5 separate regions of the Homo sapiens genome follow, and all the other regions are linked to region 2. The links are contacts of gene promoters, found by promoter capture Hi-C in blood cells and fetal thymus (Javierre and others, 2016). All regions are on one chromosome and are shown on one strand. The core of a region is centred on a gene start or on the middle of the fragment in contact, and the rest is flanking DNA. Distances in the headings are between cores, read along the strand shown. Region 1 has its middle 2.4 kb from the start of KIF14. Region 2 holds the start of KIF21B (kinesin family member 21B). Region 3 holds the start of LOC107985459 (a long non-coding RNA gene). Region 4 overlaps KIF14 (kinesin family member 14). Region 5 overlaps DDX59 (DEAD-box helicase 59).

Evidence for each region. The method cuts DNA at HindIII sites, captures the fragments that hold promoters and counts their contacts. A CHiCAGO score of 5 or more calls a contact.
Region 1: a fragment that was not itself captured here is called in contact with the fragment with the promoter of KIF21B in region 2 in 4 of 17 cell types (naive CD4 T cells, naive CD8 T cells, fetal thymus and 1 more); the score reaches 9.0 in naive CD4 T cells.
Region 3: a fragment that was not itself captured here is called in contact with the fragment with the promoter of KIF21B in region 2 in 1 of 17 cell types (fetal thymus); the score reaches 6.6 in fetal thymus.
Region 4: a contact is called between a fragment that was not itself captured here and the fragment with the promoter of KIF21B in region 2, in 1 of 17 cell types (total B cells). The highest score is 5.0, in total B cells.
Region 5: a fragment that was not itself captured here is called in contact with the fragment with the promoter of KIF21B in region 2 in 1 of 17 cell types (naive CD8 T cells); the score reaches 5.1 in naive CD8 T cells.

Annotation. Positions count from the first base shown.
Region 1 is chr1:200,621,126-200,625,076 of GRCh38, forward strand. No RefSeq gene overlaps it. Among named protein-coding and RNA genes, the nearest start is that of KIF14, 2.4 kb to the left of the region's middle. The HindIII fragment of the contact is 1,646 bases long and covers 1,409-3,054 here.
Region 2 is chr1:201,021,798-201,026,081 of GRCh38, forward strand. KIF21B (kinesin family member 21B) reads right to left here and starts at 1,917. Exons shown (of 35, transcript NM_001252102.2): 1 at 1,546-1,917. The coding sequence starts at 1,586. It overlaps LOC101929305 (a long non-coding RNA gene), which reads left to right and starts at 2,152. Exons shown (of 4, transcript NR_188464.1): 1 at 2,152-2,288; 2 at 3,707-3,822. RefSeq lists an enhancer at 112-719 and silencers at 1,324-1,373, 1,774-2,133, 2,485-2,642. The HindIII fragment of the contact is 1,958 bases long and covers 397-2,354 here.
Region 3 is chr1:200,528,247-200,532,333 of GRCh38, forward strand. LOC107985459 (a long non-coding RNA gene) reads right to left here and starts at 2,793. Exons shown (of 3, transcript XR_001737816.3): 1 at 2,698-2,793. The HindIII fragment of the contact is 4,535 bases long and covers 71-4,087 here.
Region 4 is chr1:200,605,099-200,609,003 of GRCh38, forward strand. KIF14 (kinesin family member 14) reads right to left here. Exons shown (of 30, transcript NM_014875.3): 5 at 3,732-3,830; 6 at 1,648-1,700; 7 at 766-796; 8 at 185-292. Among named protein-coding and RNA genes, the nearest start is that of KIF14, 14 kb to the right of the region's middle. The HindIII fragment of the contact is 1,924 bases long and covers 574-2,497 here.
Region 5 is chr1:200,659,736-200,663,546 of GRCh38, forward strand. The region is part of intron 3 of DDX59 (DEAD-box helicase 59); the gene reads right to left. Among named protein-coding and RNA genes, the nearest start is that of DDX59-AS1, 7.9 kb to the right of the region's middle. The HindIII fragment of the contact is 1,761 bases long and covers 567-2,327 here.

The DNA of each region.
Region 1 (3,951 bases), core at 982-3,481, 400 kb before region 2:
CTTTTCTAGTGTTTCCTATGCAAGGCGTTCACGTAGGAAATATGCTAAATGTCTTATATGAATTTTTAAACAGTCCTGAAAATCTTGTGAGATAAATATTAATGTTATCCCTCGTTTACAGATGAGGAACTGAGGTTTAGAGTTAAACTTGTGAAAGATCAGACAATTAGCAGTGGCATAACTAGAACTTGAAGGTTCTTGCCGCCGTACAATGTAACTCCGTTTCAGTAAAAGTTCCCTTTTTTTAATTTTTTTTTTCTTTTTTGAGACGGAGTCTCGCTCTGCAGCCCAGGCTGGAGTGCAGTGGCCCCTGCAACCTCCGCCTCCCTGGTTCAAGCGATTCTCCTGCCTCAGCCTCTGGAGTAGCTGGGATTACAGGCGCGCACCACCACGCCCAGCTAATTTTTGTATTTTTAGTAGAGACGGGGTTTCACCATATTGGCCAGGCTGGTCTCGAATTCCTGACCTTGTAAGCTGCCAGGCGTGAGCCACTGCGCCGCCCAGCCCCCATAAGATTTTGAAATCTGAAAAAATATTACAAATACATTCTGAAAAATAACCAAATAAATGAGAAAGACTAGATAAATAGATATTGTAAAGCAACAATGTTTTTTAAACAGGCAAAAAGTACAGAGATATTGAAGAAGTATTCACTGAGATAGAGACCATAAGTAGCTCCAATTATATAGACCAACCAAACAGATGATAAAGTACTCATTCTAAATCTTACTCTAAAAATCATTCTAAAACTCAATTAAAATTAAGGTATAAGGAAACTATCAGAAAATAGAATATAATATTTATCAGGGCCAGGTGCGGTGGCTCACGCCTGTAATCTTAGCACTTTGGGAGACCAAGGCAGGCGGATCACTTGCAGTCAGGAGTTTAAAACCAGCCTGGCTAACATGGTGAAACCCCGTCTCTCCTAAAAATACAAAAATTAGGCAGCCGTGGTGGCGGGCCCCTGTAATCCCCGTTACTCAGGAGGCTGAGGCAGGAGAATCACGTGAACCGGGTAGGCGGAGGTTGCAGTGAGCCGAGATCGCGCCATTGCACTCCAGCCTGGGGGACAAGAGAGAAACTCCGTCTCAAGAAAAAAAAAAAAAAAAGTTATCACATCTATGGGAAAATGATCATTCAATTTAGAAACAAAGCAAGATATGTCAAAGAAAAGACAGACAAACTCAAATACATAAAAATTTTAAACATATGTATAATTCAAAATAATAAAAATAAAATGTAACTGGAAATATATATTAAACATGACAGAAGACATAAAGACCTTTTTCAATTTTAAAAGGAAAATAAGCTCATAAATAGAATAAAGCAAGTATTTTTTTAAATCCACCAGAGGGAGACAAACAGAAAGAAAACGTGGAAAGAGTCGAAGTAAAACTGGCACGTTTGAAGCTTTCTGGATTATGTAAGATTTAAAGAAAAATGATTAACTCATGCTAATTAATGATCTCTTAAGATTAAATTTTTTTTTTTTGAGACGGAGTTTCGCTCTAGTTGCCCAGGCTGGAGTGCAATGGCTTGATCTTGGCTCACCGCAACGTCCGTCTCCCAGGTTCAAGCGATTCTCCTGCCTCAGCCTCCCGAGTAGATGGGATTACAGGCGTGCACCACAACCCCAGCTAATTTTGTATTTTTAGTAGAGAAGGGGTTTCTCCATGTTGGTCAAGCTGGTCTCGAACTCTCGACCTTAGGTGATCCACCTACCTCAGCCCCCCAAAGTGCTGGGATTACAGGCGTGAGCCACTGCGCCCGGCCTAAGATTAAATCTATTACAATTTAGCAAATTTCACAATTTTTAAATTATTAAAATGTGGTATGTATTTTCCTGGTGTTTGTATCTAGTTGCACTTGGGGTCTATAACGAAAAGGTGCAATAGGAAATTAATAATTTTAAAATGCAAAGGACAAAGCAAAAGTTGTGGAAAAGTGGTAAGAGCACTTTGGATTCTAGCTGAGGATCTGTCTCAACCTAATGGTGAGACCAGAGATAAGTCTCCTTACTGTAGATCCCTCGCTTGTGAAACGAAAGTGCTGGATTAAATCATCATAACCAGCAAGGATTGAGTCCTTTCTTTGTGCAAGATAAATAACCTAACTCCATAACCTTATAAGATAGGTATTATGATTATCGCTGTTTTACACATGAGGGAAAGTGGGTTTCCAAGGAGTTAAATAGCTTGCCTGACATTATACAACTACTGGGTCACAGAGTTAGGTTCAGAACTCAGGAAATTAAACACCATTTCCTGTGCTCTGTACCACTACCCTGTACAACAGTTTTTACAGATTCTTTCTGGATCTCAAATGTCTATGGCTTTATAATAAGGACAAGAGTTAAACAAACTGCATGAACCTAAAGGTATTTTAAAATCTGTCATATTTTGTATTTTCCTTCTAATTTTCTTTTTTTTATTTTTATTATTATTATTATTATTATTTTGAGACGGAGTCTTGCTCTGTCGCCCAGGCTAGAGTGCAGTGGCGCCATCTTGGCTCACAGCAAGCTCTGCCTCCCGGGTTCACGCCATTCTCCTGCCTCAGCCTCCTGAGCAGCTGGGACTATAGGCATGCGCCACCACGCCTGGCTAATTTTTTGTATTTTTAGTAGAGACAGGGTTTCACCATGTTAGCCAGGATGATCTCGATCTCCTGACCTCGTGATCCACCCGCCTCGGCCTCCCAAAGTGTTGGGATTACAGGCGTGAGCCACCGCGCCCGGCCCTAATTTTCTTTTTCTTTCTTTTCTTTTTTCTTTTTTTTTTTTTTTTTTTGAGACAGGGTCTCAATCTGTTGTCCAGGCTGGAGGGCAGTGTCATGACCATGGCTCACAGCAGCCTCAACTTCCCTGGGCTCAGGTGATTCCCCCGGCTCAGGTGATTCCCCTCACCTCAGCCTCCAGAGTAGCTGGGACTACAGGTGCATGCCACCACGCCCAGTTAATTTTTGCATTTTTTTGTGGTGACGGGATTTCACCATGTTGCCCAGGCTGGTCTCTAACTCCTGAGCTCAAGCGATCCACCTGCCTTGGCTTCCCAAAGCTTTGGGATTACCGGCGGGAGCCCCTGTGCCTGGGCTCCTTCTGCTTTCTAATACATGTTAGACCAAGAGTCTTGGAAGTATCCACTATAATATGCTTACATTTTTTTTTATCAGGTCTTGTTGATGAATCTTTATGAATTCAGTTGTTGTCACTTGGTGAAAAAATCTAAATACATTCAGCAATACTGCCAATAATTTTAAAAGAACAATTATGCAAGTAATCCCTATTATTATTATTATTATTATCATTAATATTATTTTGAGACAGAGTTTCACTCTTGTTGCCCAGGCTGGAGTGCAGTGGTGCGATCTTGGCTCTGCCTCCCGAGTTCAAGCAATTCTCCTGCCGCAGCCTCCTGAGTAGCTGGGATTACAGGCATGCGCCACCACGCCTGGCTAATTTTGTATTTTTAGTAGAGACAGGGTTTCTCCATGTTGGTTAGGCTGGTCTCGAACTCAGGTGATCCACTCCCCTCGGCCTCCCAAAGTGCTGGGATTACAGGCGTGAGCCACCACACCCAGCCTAGTAATCCTTTTTAATATATAAAGAAAAGAACTCAGGGATTAGAAAATATTATAGACTCTCTTTTTCTCTTTGAGTCATGCTGGTTTCATTCCAGGGAAGATTAGCAAGATTTAAAAACCATTGTCAGCCCCAAAGCCTAGTGAGTATCCTATTTTTACATAAAGGAAGCTTGGGTCTTACATAAAGTTTCATTTAGGAAGAACAATTTTTTTTAAGGCCTAGTTTGACCTTCAATTGGTTGTCTTCTTCCCATTGTGCTTTGCCAACATAGCCCAAGGTCATTCTGACATCCTGTTGAAAATGCTGGGGATTCCTCCAAGTAGACTTGTAGGTATTTTCCTAAAATGGATAATGAAAAGCTTCAAGTC
Region 2 (4,284 bases), core at 667-3,166:
GTGGGGGCCAGAGCTTCATTTCCCTTTTATGGTGTTCTCGGACTCTCCCAATCTGCTGCAGATGCCATATTTACATTTCTCACTCCCACCCCCCAGCCATGCACCCCTCCCTCGACCTCCACAAGATCCTGCTGCAATGTCAGCCCCAGCAGCAGCCTGGCCCCGCCCCAGTCAGCCCACCAGGCACCTGCAGGGCTCCTCTTTGTCTCTGGCTGCTCAGGGCCAGGAAAGCTGTGCTCAAGTGATTCTTGAGTGCTGCCTAGGGTGCATGGGTGGGGGTGCCTCAATCTCCTTCCCTTCACCCAAGCACTGATCAGTGTCAGCTCCTCTTTGGGCTGCAGAGGCCTGGCCAGGTGGCCGTGGCAAGGGGCATCTGCCCTGGGGCAGGAAGAAGAAAGCTTTTTCATTGCCATCTCTGACTCTGTCTAGGAGCAACCTCCTAGGACCCCTGGAATCTGGGTCACATATGACCCAAGGGATCTAGAGACCTGAGAGACCTACCCTAGACCTGGACAATCCCCCGCCCCCTCCATCATACAGGGCTGGGGCAGAGATAGATGTTCTTGCCACATCCCTACCTTGGTGAGCAGCTCCAGATTGGCACTCTGCCGCCAAGACACCCCTCTCAAAGAGAAAAACCCAAAGCAAAAACTGGGAGAAGTGGTGAGGTGTGAAGCATCTCCACCCAGCACAAAGAACACAGATGGCTCAATTTCACAGCATTTCCTGCTCCTGCACCTTTGTGTACCCCTCCCAATAGAACCCACCCAGCCATGTCCTCTCCCTGTCTCATTTCTGCCGGCTCAAGTCCCGGAGCTGTTGAGAATGGAACCCCAGATAAGTCTAGGCAACCCTCCCCTGCTCAATTTTATCTGAGTGCCTGAGGATGGGGCATCTGCATCACACCCTCCTGCCCTCTCAGAGAGAAGCACCTCAGATACACCTCTTCCTCCCTTCCTAGGCCCATCTCCTCTTGGGACAGGACTGGTAGGATTCTCCCCCAAAGCCATTGACTTCCCACAGAAGGCCAAGGCATCATCCCAGCTTTTCCGTTGGTCCCCGCACCCGATCTTTGTCTGCAGATCTGGCTCCCAGGGTGGGTGTGCTGCCTTTGCTAGCTGGACCAAGAGCACATAACTAGCTGACTCGCATGGATGAGGGGAAATTTCCCTCTCTGGTATCCCCGTATGAGACAGCAGCCTCGTGGGGAGGCGAAGAGGAAACGCACAGACGCTCCGGCCTGGGCCAGAGCTGGGTGTGAAATACCGGATTTCCTTGTTTATTCGATTTTCTGATCATTAAGGGCTCCCAAGAGGGGCCCAAAATTACCACCCAAACAAAGCCACCTTCCAGTAGTCGGCGGGGTCGCCGCTCCCCTGCGGCAGACTGGCCAGCGCGCGGCGCCCTCCATCCCGTCCCACGCCGGCCCCTCCTCCGGGAGTGCAGGCTCCAGCCCAAGCGGTGCTCGCGCCCCCCGCCCAAAGCCCACGCGAGACAAAGCCCGAGGCTTCTCCGCGCGCCCCCTTCCCCGCCCCGGGTCCCTACCTGACGGCCACCTTGACGCAGCAGTCCCCCTGGCCGGCCATGGCCCTCTGGAGCTAGGGTCTGGGCGTGGATCAGAGGCGGGGGTCTGGGGGCCAATGCCCGAGGCAGCGGCTGCGGCTGCGGGAGGCGGGGGCGCGGGCGCGGCTGGCGGAGGCTGCGGCGGCGGCGGCTGGAGGTGACATGCTCGCGGGCGGCAGGCCGAGGGGCTCACCCGCGGCCGGCCCCCCGGGGCTGGGCCCGCGCGCCTCCTCGCGCCATCGGGCGGCGGCGCGGAGCTAGCTGACAGCCGGCGGCGCGACCCGCCGCTCCCTACGGCGCGGCACACGCGCACACACCTCCCACCCGGCAGCCACCTCCCGCCGCAGCGCGAACAAAGGGGGCGGGGGCCGATCCGGCCCCGAGCCCGCCCCGAGCCAGCCCCGAGCCCAGGCCGGGCCCCGCCCCGCCCAGGAGCCGCCAATCGAAAGCCCTAATGAGCAGTGGGGGCGGGACTCGCGCCTTTAAAGGGACCTCTTGGCTCGCGGCCACGGGGTGGCTGGGGGTAGGGGGCGGGATTGAAGGGTGGGGGTGGGGGTAGGGGTGGGAGTAGGGGTGGGGGCGCTGGACGCAGACCACGTTAGAACCTCGGCTCCTGGAGTAGCAGAACCTCGGCTTCAATGGGACCCTCATTTCATAAATGAAGAAACTGAGATTCAAAGAGGGGAACTACCGAAGGTTACAGAGCGAGTTCGTGGGTAAGCATGGTAAGAACCCTGGTCTCCCGGGGATCCCACAGCGATTGACGGTTTATAGTTCAAAAGAGCCAGGAAAGCTTCCCTTCTGCATTTATTCCAGTAAATTCGCCAACCCTTCTCGAAGGGAGTTCTTGCTAGCCCCTAACTAAAATTTCCCCCACCTCCACCCTGCAGCATCTTAAAGCTCATGTTTTAGTTGATTCCTGGCCAGGCTCCTAGCCCAAGACTAGCCCCTCCCTACTGCTAGACGACTGTCCCATTGACCTTTATGACCCACAGATGACCCCACTGGGCCTGGCTCACACTCTGCTTGTTGTGGCTGTGGGGCCAGAGGGTCAGTGTGGGAGGCCTGAGCTGCCCTGGGGGAAAGGAGGGAACAAAGGGGGCCCTCAGTTCCGAGCACCTGGGTAGAGAGGCTGGGCGGTGAAGTGGGTGGGGAAGGGAAGGAGGGCAGCTGCCTGCAGGAATGGGTATAAAGGACAAGGAGGACCATGGAGACTTTAACGCTGGGCCTGGATGGAGGAGGAGACCAGTGCTGCAAAGTCACAATTCCCTTCCCAGTCCATCTCCCTCCCTCTGAGCCCAGACGCCTCTTCCCTGCCCCCTGCCTCCCAACATTGGGGCCATTCACAGGGCCCCTCACCAGCTGCCCTCACTTCACCCAGCTCCCTCCCCTGGAAAGGGCCCAAGAGGAGGACCCAGCTGCAGCCCCAGATGTGGATGGGGATCTCTGGGGGAGGGGAGGAAGGGGAGTCTGACTCCAGGCCTCTTACATTACCCTCAGATGATGAAACCATGTCAGAGATTTTGGCAAGGGTGTGGACTGGGGTCTGAGGATGCATCTGTTGGTACCATCTTCCTCCCCTTCCCTCCTCCACTCACACCCCCCTCCCCGCCAATAACTGCTTCATGCAGTAGCTCAGATCCCTGTTTGGCTTGACCTATTAAGGTCAAATCAAAACCAAAGATAATTTCAAGGGCAAATTTCAAGGGCCAATCAACACATCCTTTTCATCCCCATGGCAAACAGGAGGAGCACCGCCAGCAGTGCCCCCATGATGGGGGCTGGAGAAGAGGTCTTGGTGGTATCCTGGACCTTTTATTAGCATTTGAATCTAGAGGAAGCTCTCCCTGGGGCCAGGGGATCACCTCTCCTGGACCAGGAGGTTAGCAGAATGTTGCAGTCATATCCTGCAACATTCCTCCCCATCTTCCAACCAAAATAATTCGTGGGGAGGAGACTAACACATATGGACCACCTACACAAGGTATTTTATGCACATATTCTCATTTTTTCCCTATAACCTTGTAAGCTAGGCTTTTTTATTCTTTTTAAATTTTGCAGATGGGGAAACTGAGCCTCACATGTATGAATTCCAGCATATAAGCAACAGACTCCAGATTTGGACATGTATATCTTATTCCAGGCTTCCCAGATGACCACCAAGGTGGAAGGGATGATGATGTCCAGGCAGAAGGGAGCTAGGCCGGCCCAGGCTTTTCCTCTAGGCACAGCGGACTCCAGGTTCAGCCTTCCCGGATGGTAATGTTGCATTCTGAAGAGCTACTTTCCCGCCAACTCATCTCTGGACTTCTCTGGGGCCCAACTCTGGTTTCCTGCCTGCAGGAGGTCCCCTCTGACTTCCGACAGTAGATGACCCTTCTGACTCACAGTTCTACTGCTGGGAAATGCCTCCAGAGCTGCTGCCCACCCTCTCTGCATCCCTCCAGGTCACTGGGTGTTGAGTCAGGGGAAGCAGGGATACACACGGGCGGGAAACTCAGGTCTCCTAAATGTCAGAGCCTCAGGACTTCGGCTACTCAGAAGTAGCTCCCTCCTGGGCCACCAGGGAGCAGCAGGGCAGCCAGCATCCAGACATCCCCCCTGGGTTCTGCTGCTCAGAGGCTAGATGGAGAACCAAGGTGGGAAAAAGGCTTAAACCACAGCGTGGGGAGATTTAGGTTAGATGGGTCAGAGGAAGTTTAGGACAAGCCTTGCCCTTTT
Region 3 (4,087 bases), core at 1,088-3,587, 490 kb before region 2:
AGTTACTCAGTGGCAGGCGTATGTGGGTGGGGGGTTGAGGTGGGAGGATTGTTTGAGCTGGGGAGGTTGAAGCTTCAGTGAGCCCTGATTGTGCCACTGCACTCTAGCCTGGAGAGCAGAGCAAGACCCTATCTCAAAAAATAATAATAATAAAATAAAATAGGCCAGGCACATTGGCTCACACCTGTAATCTCACCACTTTGGGAGGCCGAGGTAGGGGGATCACCTGAGGTCAGGAGTTCGAGACCAGTCTGGCCAACATGGTGAAACCCTGTCTCTACTAAAAATACAAAAATCCCAGCTACTTGGGAGGCTGAGGCAGGAGAATTGCCTGAACCCGGGAGGCGGAGGTTGCAGTGAGCCGAGATTGCACCACTGCACTCCAGCCTGGGCGACAGAGCAAAAATCCGTCTCAATAAATAAATAAATAAATACATAAATAAATAAAGATAAAATAAAATAAAATAAAATAAACAAAGAGGTGTAGCGCATGACTTTCGTGTTCTTTGTATCTCCGCTGTTCTGTGATTCATTGGTCCTAGACGTCATGTGGTCTTTGCTAAGGGAACTAGGATGATGCTATCATTGAATTCTGTTTAGTAACTCTCTGTTCAAACTGCACTTATGCTTTAAAGAGTTGGGAAGTTAACTCTATCATTATTTTAGTGTGGGATCAGTTACCTTATTCTGGGATTGTCTCCACAAAAGCTGGCTGGTTGCCCTCCAGGTATCCTTATCGAAGCCGGGTCTACTCAAATGAAAATCACCGCCACTGGGCCATGCCCAGCTTGGACTGAGCACATGAATCATGTGGCTGTGAGTGATTGTCCCAGCCCAGGACAGTCCCCTGCTTTGTCCTTGCCCATGGGAACTAAGGAGCATCATTCAAAGAATAAAGACCAAGCCCAGAGCTGACAACTAGCTGCCTGGTTTTTCCATCCATGGCTCAAACTCAAAAGAAGAGAAGTGTAAAGCCACTTTAAGAAATAGTAAGTGTCAGCAGAAAATCAGGTTTAAAAAAAAAAACAAAAAACTGCATAACTGAAAACACCACGAGTGACTCTGTGAAGCTCTCCCATTAACATAAGGTCTCAAAGAGGCTGCAAGAGGGGAACAGGACCCCTCAGTTGTAATTAGAGCCACTAACATAAAGCAAGCCAGATTTACTGGAGTTTTTGTTTGTTCTGAAAGCTCAGAAAGGTGAGGTGGCCTGATTTCCTGGGTATTATACAGCTGGGGGGAAACCTAACAGTTATAAAACTGGTTCAAAGCTGCCTGCATGATTTCATATTTTAAAAGTGAAGTGTGAAAAATCTTTTTAAATTTTACTTGCATTAGATCACCTTCTAAGGTTACTAAAGCTCCTAATTAGAGGGCAGGATTCATTTAGAATGAAAAGTGGTTACCATTTTAACCAGTGATAAAAGCTGGCAGACCCCTAAATGACTAACAAGAATGGAAGGTAATCAGGAAGCACTTCTGTTTTACTAAACTGTAGCACCTTTTGCAAATATTGCTAAGTGGTCACCTCCAGCAGCGAGGTAGGATGTTTGAAGGTGAGACCTCTCACCAGAGTGCACTAGGTTCAAATCTCAGCCCTGGCCCTTGTTAGCTGTGTGAATTTTAACCTCTTCTCCGTGTATAAAATGGTGAGCTTAAGGGGCTCCTGTAAAGATTAATGAACAATGTCAGGCAGTATGTGAGTGTGTGGGCATCTCTTTAAATGTGCTTATCCACCAGGTATGGTGGTTCACACCTGTAATCCCAACACTTTGGGAAGCTGAGGCAGGCAGATCACTTGAAGTCAGGAGTTCGAGACCAGCCTGGCCAATATGGTAAAACCCCGTCTCTACTAAAAATACAAAAATTAGCTGGGCGTGGTGGTGCACACCTGTAATCCCAGCTACTCAGGAGGCTGAGGCAGGAGAATCACTTGAAGCCGGGGGGCAGAGGTTGCAGCGAGCCAAGATCGTGCCACTGCACTCCAGCCGGGGCAACAAAGTGAGACTCTGTCTCAAAAAATAAATAAATAAAATAAATGTGTTTATCATATTTCCGGAATGGTTAAGCATATACACTCTCATTTTTGTGGATTGCATTGGTTGGCTCTGTGCTCTATGTCATTTTTCTGCCTCTCCTAGAGGCTTTGGTGTTTGCAACAGGAATTTCAGTCTTCTTGACTTGATAGGGAAAAAAAATGTGGGGGCTAAAGGGCCACCCTGTAAACCCGACCCCATTAGGTGACTGCAAACCTTACAGAAATAAATGAACATGTCAGTGCTGGTTTATGTGTGAAGTGAGGTGTGTTCCCTAACCTGTCAGCAAGCCATATTTTATTTGGATAAAGACCCTAAAATCAAGCACATTTACAGGCTGTTGCAGCCACTCCCATTCTGCTCAGCTAAGCAGCTGCACCCCCCACTTCCCCACAGTGCAGCTGTGATCCTTCCTCGGGGCCCTGGGCTCCTGCATTCAAGCTAGTTCAAAGCATCGAGGCCACACCACCACATCCTCTGCACTCCATAGAGGTGCAGTGGAACTGAGCCCACATTAAGCCAAAACCTCCAAAGAAGCAAAATTTTGCATTTTGTAATGGCTGGTGAGATCGGCATCTATGCTGCCTTACCATGCCCTATCCCGGGGAGATCTCAGAGAGGACACTACTAAAGTCTCCCACACCTCGCCCATGTCACTTACCTGAGTATGATGTCAGGTGAGAGTATGGTCCTATAGCAGAAGACAGGTATTTGTAGTAGAATCTGCTTGTGCCTGCATGTGTGTGTGTGTGTGTGAGAGAGAGAGAGAGAGGAGAGAGAAGAAAGAAAGCCACAGTTAACACTTATTTGGCACTAACTTTGCACCTGGGCACAGTGCTAAGTCACTTTCACACAGTCTCCCTCCTCCTGCAACAGACAAAAGGGCCTTTTCCCTTTATGCCCTCTCTTTCTGAAGACCTGTCTCCTTCCGCTCTCTGCAGACTTTCTTTCCCCCAGAAGTGAACAGGTTTCACGGGTATTGCATGTTTTCACAGCCTCTGGTGGGAGGGTGGGCCCCAGCCTCCCTCTCTGTTTCGCTGCTGGGTAGAGGAGATGGAGCAGCTTCTAGTCCCAAGAGGGAGGGGAAAGGGGCAGGGAAGAAATGATGTGGGGTGATTCCTTTTCTCCTTGTTGCAGTTTGGTAGATTCCCTCCCCTCCATTTGTTTTTCTTTGATTATCACTTAGGAAAAGGGAAAGTCAATCCTATTAATAAGCCTCATCAAGTCTTCATTCAAGATCAACTCCTCTATTAACATGACTTTGACTTTATTACGTGAATGAAACATTTGTCCCCTATCCCACCTAGCGTTCCTTACAAAGTCCTATTCCATTAATTTCACACTGGAAGGCAGGCACTATGCCCAATCTCTCTATCCTAATTCTTTTTTTTCTTTTTTCTTTTTTTTTTTTTTTTTTGAGATGGAGATTTTACTCTTGTTGCTCAGGCTGGAGTGCAGTGGCACGATCTCAGCTCACTGCAACCTCCGCCTCCCAGGTTCAAGCAATTCTCCTGCCTCAGCCTCCCAAATAGCTGGGATTACAGGCATCCGCCACCACGCCTGGCTAATTTTTATATTTTTAATAGAGACAGGGTTTCACCATGTTGGCCAGGCTAATCTCAAACTCCTGACCTCAAGTGATCTGCCCGCCTCAGCCTCCCAAAGTGCTGGGATTACAGGCGTGAGCCACCATGCCTGGCCTCTCTATCCTAATTCTTGAATTCCCCCTCCAATGGGGGAAGAGACTGGGAAGGGCATTTCCTCCACACTCCCAATAGGACCTTGAAATTGCTTGCTTTTCTGGGTCTAAACTAAATCCTCTTCCACTTGGCTGTATGCTGGGGAGGCTGAACCATATGGCCCATTCCAGGGGGTTCCCTTGCCTTGTCTGGCTTCTTGTTGGATTTGGCCCCAGGGGGAGTCTGGAGGGAGGCAGGAGAGTGAGGACTAGGCAGTCATTTCCCCTGCTCCCTCCCTCACTATGGGATCACATCAGGCCAGTTAGGTCCCTGACCAAATGGACTCTCAGGTAGCACACTCCACAAAGCCCA
Region 4 (3,905 bases), core at 286-2,785, 420 kb before region 2:
ACAATAAGAAAAACATGAAACTTAAATGTATTTACTATCTTGCCTGTGGAAAAAAAATACCTTGGTCTGGGTGATCACCAGGGTGAAAACTGAATGAGATCGGGAACTTTTTAAAAAAATACCTTGGTCTGGGTTATCACCAGGGTGAAAACTGAAAGAGATCGGGAACTTTTAAAAAAAATACCTTGGTCTGGGTCATCACCAGGGTGAAAACTGAATGAGATCGGGAACTTTTATCATTCATACCAGTAGCAGCAGTAGCTCTTTGTTTATTTCCCAATTCTAGCCAACTCTTATAAGAAAAAAGGAAGGAAGATCAGATCAGCAGACTGTAACTCAATGATATAAAAATTAAGAGAGACAACATATACACATTTGTAATTCAGATCAGCAGACTGTAACTCAATGATATAAAAATTAAGAGAGATAACATATACACATTTGTAATTAATTTATAAAATGAAATGAGTAAATATTTATCTTTTAATAATTTGTATTCCCATTGCCTTTTTTTCTGTCATAGAAATCTGAGGCAGGAAATAATAACTTTAAAAGGCTGTTTCCATAACTCTAAGCTTACATGAAGGTCAACATTTTTAATAAAGAAGAGCAATTATTTTGATTAAAACTTAACAAAATCGGTTTGTGATAAATTAAGGAAACTAACCTTTTATTTGTAAAACAGCAATTAAGAAAAAATATTCTTATAAATATTTAGGATTATGCTCTTTCTATCTAGTGAAAAGAAAACAAAATCAATCTTACCTGGATATCAGCGTAAGAACTGACAATGTTCCTATTTTTAAGAAGTGAAAAGACAAAATCAATTTTACTGATGATTATACTCTTGTTCTCATAAAACAATAACATTTCAATTACATATTTACGCTGAAGATCACAATGGACTAATTCATGAATATTATTTTATTGATTCTCCCAGAATCTTTTATTTTCCCCATTCTTGAAGGACAGGAAATAAAATAATGCTTTAATTTTAACAAAAAGTATGATTTTTCTTAATACAATGAAGCACCTTAGCATCTTAATATTCAAGTCTAAGTCACAATACCAAAAGATATACTTTAACACATATGTATATGCATAGGTATATTTATATGTGGGTGTATATGGGTCCCAATACAATCCCAGATGTATTAAATGCAGCTGAGTTAATACTTAATAACTTTTCCTTTCCTTTAAGAAAGCATTTGCAGTGTTGGAAAAAAAAGTAAATGACTCCTAGCATGCATCAAACTCTTAACTCTTCTTAGTACCCTCTTCCCTGTCTAGCTTAGAGTCATAGGTATAAAAAGCAGGTTGAGAGGGAAGATTAAATTAATAGTGAAAGGAAGGGGTAAAAGAAAGAAAAAGCAAATATTTACTTCATAGTATAATGAATACTCCATGGCAGACACTTTACAGGTACTATGAAAGACACATGCAAGTATTAAAACAAGTAACTAACACTCTATGGAAAGAGAGGGAAAACCTAATTGGACAATATCAAGGGTAGAAGGCTAAATAAATAGTTACCCAGGGTTTCAAAGTTAGGAAGGCCAATGAGAATACAATAAAGATTATGGGAGAGTAACATTCACTCTATTCATTTGTTTTATCCTCTTTGCCCTTGCTGAGCCAAATACTTACATTGACAGTGCTTCAACATATGGTCCATAAACAGGATGTTCCCTCACTCTCAGCTAGAAGAAGCAAATACATGCATCATTAGGAGTATGACAAATATTTCATGTAACTTGAAATGATCACTTTTTCTACATCTTGAGTTTAAGGTAAGAGATTTGTCTTTATTTTATCCAGGAAAAAAAAAAACCACAAAAACTCTCACAAAAACAAATCTGTAAGGCATTAGGAAACAGCTTCAATATAAAAAACTGTTCATAGTAGCACAATATGCAACAATATATTGTAGCATCAAGTCTTACTAGTTTTTTTATTCTTAAAAAACTGCTATTAGAATTGTCTAATAGACAATAATTAGAACAATATATTTTAGCATCAGATGTCTTACTAGTTTTTTGTTTGTTTGTTTGTCTGTTTTGAGACAGAGTCCTGCTCTGTGGCCCAGGCTGGAGTACAGTGGTGCAATCTTGGCTCAGTGCAACCTCTGCCTCCTGGGTTCAAGCGATTCTCCTACCTCGGCCTTCTGAGTAGCTGAGATTACAAGACAGTGCCACCACACCAGCTAACTTTTGTATTTTCAGTAGAGAAGGAGTTTCACCATGTTGGCTAGGCTGGTCGGGAACTCCTGACCTCAAGTGATCCGCCCACCTCAGCCTCCCAAAGTACTGGGATTGCAGGCGTCAGCCACCGTACCCAGCTTGTCTTCCTAGTTTTTCAGTAAGACATTTGAATGTTAAATCTTGCAGTAGCTATGATTTATATACTTTTAAATGCTCTCTAAAACATATTCGTTAAATTTCAGACATTAAAATTTTTCTTTATTGTTACATTATACATTTTCAACTTTGTGACCAGAAGCTTTAAACATATAGAAATCATAGAAGCAAATGTCAAGTTTTGTTTAAGTTTCTTGATGTTGCCAATAGTAAACTGCACAAACATGGGCAAGTGAAGAAGACAGCTGACTTCCTTTTTTTTCTTGAAATGGAGTCTTGCTCTGTCGCCAGGCTGGAGTGCGGTGGTGAAATCTCGGCTCACTGAAACCTCTGCCCCCGGGTTCAAGCGATTCTCCTGCATCAGCCTCCTGAGTAGCTGGGACTACAGGCACGCGCCACCATGCCAAGCTAATTTTTGTATTTTTAGTAGAGACAGGGTTTCACCATGTTGGCCAGGATGGTCTCCATCTCTTGACCTAGTGATCCACCTGCCTTGACCTCCCAAAGTGCTGTGATTACAGGTGTGAGCCAACACGCCCAGCCGTCTTCTTTAGATTTTTGTTTATTGTGCTCCAAGGTCCATTGCAAAATTAAAAATTTTAAATTTGAATAGCAGTTTTTAAAAAAGATTATATAATTGTGAAACTTTCTATTTCACAGATTATCTACAAGGTATGAATTTGCTAAATAATCCACTGAAATACATATTCTATAATAAAAATATAATTTTAAAAAGTTTTACTATGTTTTGGCTTATAGACTATTAGGGATCTGGTGTTCAACTTACATGGTCCAACTAAATCTCAGAACAAATATTTTATCTTTAGTTTTATACAATTCTTCATTAAAATAAAGAGGTTAAATCTGATAACTAATTTAATTTCTACTAGTGATAATGTTCCGCTTCTTTTCTTTTTTTTTTTTTTGGAGACGAAGTCTCACTCTGTCGCCCAGGCTGGAGTACAGTGGCTTGATCTCGGCTCACTGCAACCTGCCTCCCAGGTTCAAGCAATTCTCCTGCCTCAGCCTCTGGAGAAGCTGGGACTATAGGTGCAATCCGCCACACCCGGCTAATTTTTTGTATTTTAGTAGAGACAGGGTTTCACTGTGTTGTCCAGGCTGGTCTTGAACTCCTGAGCTCTGGCAGTCTGCCCCCCTCAGCCTCCCAAAGTGCTGGGATTACAGGAGTGAGCCACCATGCCCGGCCAGTGCTCTGCTTATTTTCTAAATAATCTAATTGGACTGTAGATCCAAGCATTTGCTTTCATATAATTCTAGTAAAACTTTAAGCTATACCATCCAGAGAACTCAAATAATTAGATACATTTATAAGAACAGAAATTCAAAACAAATAATAAATTGTTTTAATCTTACTGGTTGCTTTCTCTGCCCATTTTCATCTTTACAAACCAGAAGGTCGTGAATTTTTTCATTATATACTTCAAAGAAGCTCATTTCAATGTGATAGCTGACCTAGTAGGAATAGAAACACAGCATATAATTTATTTTGATGTTTTGCAAATCATATCTGTGGTTAGGAACTAGTAT
Region 5 (3,811 bases), core at 197-2,696, 360 kb before region 2:
GTCACCCAGCAGGGAGTGCGTGGCTCACTGTAGCCTCAACTTCCCCAGCTCCAGGGGTCTTCCTGCCTCAGCCTCCCATGTAACTAGGATTACAGGCATGCCACCACACCTGGCTAATTTTTTGTTTTTTTGCAGAGACAAGGTCTCTATGCTACCCAGGCTGGTCTCAAACTCCTGGGCTCAAGTAATCCTCCCGCCTTGGCCTCCCAAAGTGCTGGGATTACAAGTGTAAGCTACTGCATTCAGCTTATTTTTACCTTTTTTTAAACAAGAAGGAAAAATGCTTTAATACCAATCACATCTCCCCTGTGCTTCTAAGCTACTGTTGGCCAGTATTTAACTTCTATTGTATTTTGAAACCTACAGGTTGTTCATTATGATTACTGTTTCATTCAATGTTTCCTGAGATTTACCCACATGCTTACTATTTTCCTTGGCCACCATTATTTCTTCCATCCCACACCCTCCTTTCTGGCACAATCTTCTTTATCTGTAGACTACCTTAGTTTTAAAGTTCTCTTACATGGTGTACTGGTATTAACTTTCTCAGTTTTGTTTATCTGAAAAGCTTTTTATGTTGTCCTTGCTCTTGGAGGGCAACTTTGCTGAACAGAGGTTTTGGTTATGTTTTCTCAGAGGGCACCTGGGAGAGAGCTCAGGCTGGTGAGAGGGGTGGGAGTGACAGGTGGGCAAGCAGGAGCCTCCACAGAAAGGCGGCCCTGCATGGGGTGCTGCAGCCTGAGGGGCTGAGGAGAGTGCAGGGTGGAGTCTGGTGAGGAGGGCATCGCTGTGGGCAGGGCGGTGCTGATGGCGGGAGGTAGGCTACATAGAGGAGGATTGGTCAAATAAATAAACAAATACATAAATGAAAATGAGTGGCAGGTTTCTGTCAGTTACAAACATGAATGAATCCTGTTGCATTGAATTGGAATTGGAAGTATCAACATGAACTCATAGTCTCATGGTTTCTAATAAATATAGATACAGAAAAACACACACTTAGATATACAGCTGACCCTTGAACAACATGGATTTCAACTGTGTGAGTCCACTGAAACATACCAATTTCAACCAAACACGGACCAACAATACTCGAGTTCAGCAGGGCCAACTGCAAGATTCAAGTCTGCAAAGATTTTGGTACATACGCAGGGGATCCTGGAACCAATCCCTGGCAGACGCCCAGCGATGACTGTATTCCCTAGCTCTATCCACTGGGAAGTCCTAGAAGCAGTGATAGTCCAATAGCAATCAACGCACATAGCCCAGATCTTTCTTTTTAAATACTATCCTCTAGTAAAATAAACCAGGGCTCCTTGGAGAAGGCATGATTCCAGGGCTGGGGCAGGGAAAGAAAAATGTAAGTATGGAACATCTTCTTTAGATAGAAGGTAAGGAAGACTCAAAGAATGATGGAGATCTGAACAAAGGACATAGAAACCAACTTGAAGGTGCTTCCACTGGCCAGATAGAGATCAACTGGAGTATCAAAACAAATAATGATAATAGATTGTAAACCTTTGAATAACAGGAAGCTGTGAGTCCATACAGATATAAATAAATATATAAATAAATTCAAAGTGTGGTGAAGAATGAGAAATTTACATTTCAAAGTACACCTCAAAGTACTCTCCCCAAAATATTTACTAAACTCAAAGGGGAAAAAAATAAACTTGACAATTACTTTACAGATCCTATCACTAGGAAAAGGACATACTGATACTCTGTGCAACCTAAAAGGATGCAATGAAAAAAACAAAGCATCTCTTCTGTGATATTCCTGTCAAAGACATGTAACTTGAATCTAATCAAATGAGGGATGTTCTTCAAAGTAAGTGGCTTGTAAACCTTAAAAGGGCCAAGATTATGAGGAAAAAAGGAAAGATGGAAGAGCTGTTTCAAATTGAAGGAGATGACAAAGACACAACAACTAAATGCAACATGTGATTCTGAACTGGATTCTTGTGCTATAAAAAGTGATGGAACAATTATAAAAATGTGAATGGGGACTGAGGAGTAGATGATACCAATATTAATTCCTGATGTAATCTACTCTATCAACGTGATACTGTTTGGATCTGTGTCCCCACCCAAATTGCATGTCGAACTGTAATCCCCAATGTTGGAGGTGGGATCTGGAGGGAGGTGATTGGATCATGGGGGCTATTTCTCATGGTTTAACACCCTTCCCCTTGGTGCTGTCATCATGATAGTTCTTGTGAGATCTAGTTGTTTAAAAGTGTGTAGCACCTCCCCACTCTCTTTCTTCCTCCTGCTCTGGCCACGTGAAGCTCCTCGCACCCCCTCTGCCTTCTGCCATGATTGGAAGCTTCCTGAGGCCTCCTTAGAGGCAGAAGCCACTATGCTTCCTGTACAGCCTGCAGAACCATGAGCCAATTAAAGTTCTTTTCTTTATAAATTAGTCTCAGGTATTTCTTTATAGCAGTGCAAGCATGGACTAATACACAATGTTAATTTCCTGATTCCATAATTGTATTACAGTTATGTAAGATAATGTCCTTGTTTGTAGCAATCATACTGTAAAGTATATGGGGGTGATAGGGCATCAAGTCAGCAAGTTACTTCCAGAAGGTTTGGGAGGAAAAAAAAGTTCCATTTACTGTACTTACCACCTTTCTTTAAGTTTGAGATTGTTTTTTTAAAAAATGTGTGCTTTGGGAGGCCGAGGCAGGTGGATCACCTGAGCTCAGGAGTTTGAGACCAGCCTGGCCAACATGGTGAAATCCCATCTCTACTAAAAATACAAAAACTTAGCTGGGCATGGTGGTGGGCGCCTGTAGTCCCAGCTACTCTGGAGGCTGAGGCAGAAGAATCGCTTGAACCTGGGAGACGGAGGTTGCAGTGAGCAGAGGTTGCACCACTGCACTCCAGCCTGGGCAACTAGAGACTAACACCAATACATTAACATATATTTTTTTAAGAATTGGAATGCAAGCTTAGTTTAAAAGCTGTTAGAAGTTTGCAGCTACTTATGCGTTTGAATTATAATGTTATCCATTCGTTGCAATGAAAATAAATTTAAGGCAGAGGTTGATATGAGACTGCAGTTAAACTCCATTAACCCAACTTCAAATTTGATGCCCATCAAAAGTACTTGTATTGTTTACTTTATAAATATATACTGCTGAACTTATAATTTGGCATTAATATCACCTTTGTCTGTTTTATATACTGGAGGTCCACCTTAAAAAATCACTGATCCAATATCCCATTAATTATCAACCTGTAATTTCTTAAAACAACATTTTACAGGCTTTAAATCTGTCAGATAAATCTGATTTGACCTTCAAAAGATTCCAACATGAAAGGCTGATATTCACCCATAGAAGCTGTCGAATACTGCAGGAGCTTCATCCCAGCTGGTACTGCTGCCCCAGCCCCCTGAGTGCCCTTCCCCAACTCCCTGCCAACCCAGCTTGTCCCCTGGGTCGCCAGGGCCGCCCTACCACCCTAGTTAACTAAACAGTTAATGCCCAGAACACCAAGGGGCCCCGAGGACCCAGCTCCTGCACCAAAGCTGCAGTCTATTTTGATTGGTCAGCATCTGTGCCAAACCTTCCATTAAACATTTTTATTTTAAAGGCAGGTATCTTCAGCCACCCATTCAAACTCAAGAAAACTGAAGCCCACAGAAGTGAAGTAACTTATCTATGGCCATACAGCTACCAAGTTTCAAAGCTAGAATCAGACCACATTGCTTTTACATACTTTTACATACCAGAAAATACAGACTACGCATAACAGCATGGCTAAGGAAGGAGGAAAGACAGGTAAATTAAGGGTCAATTTT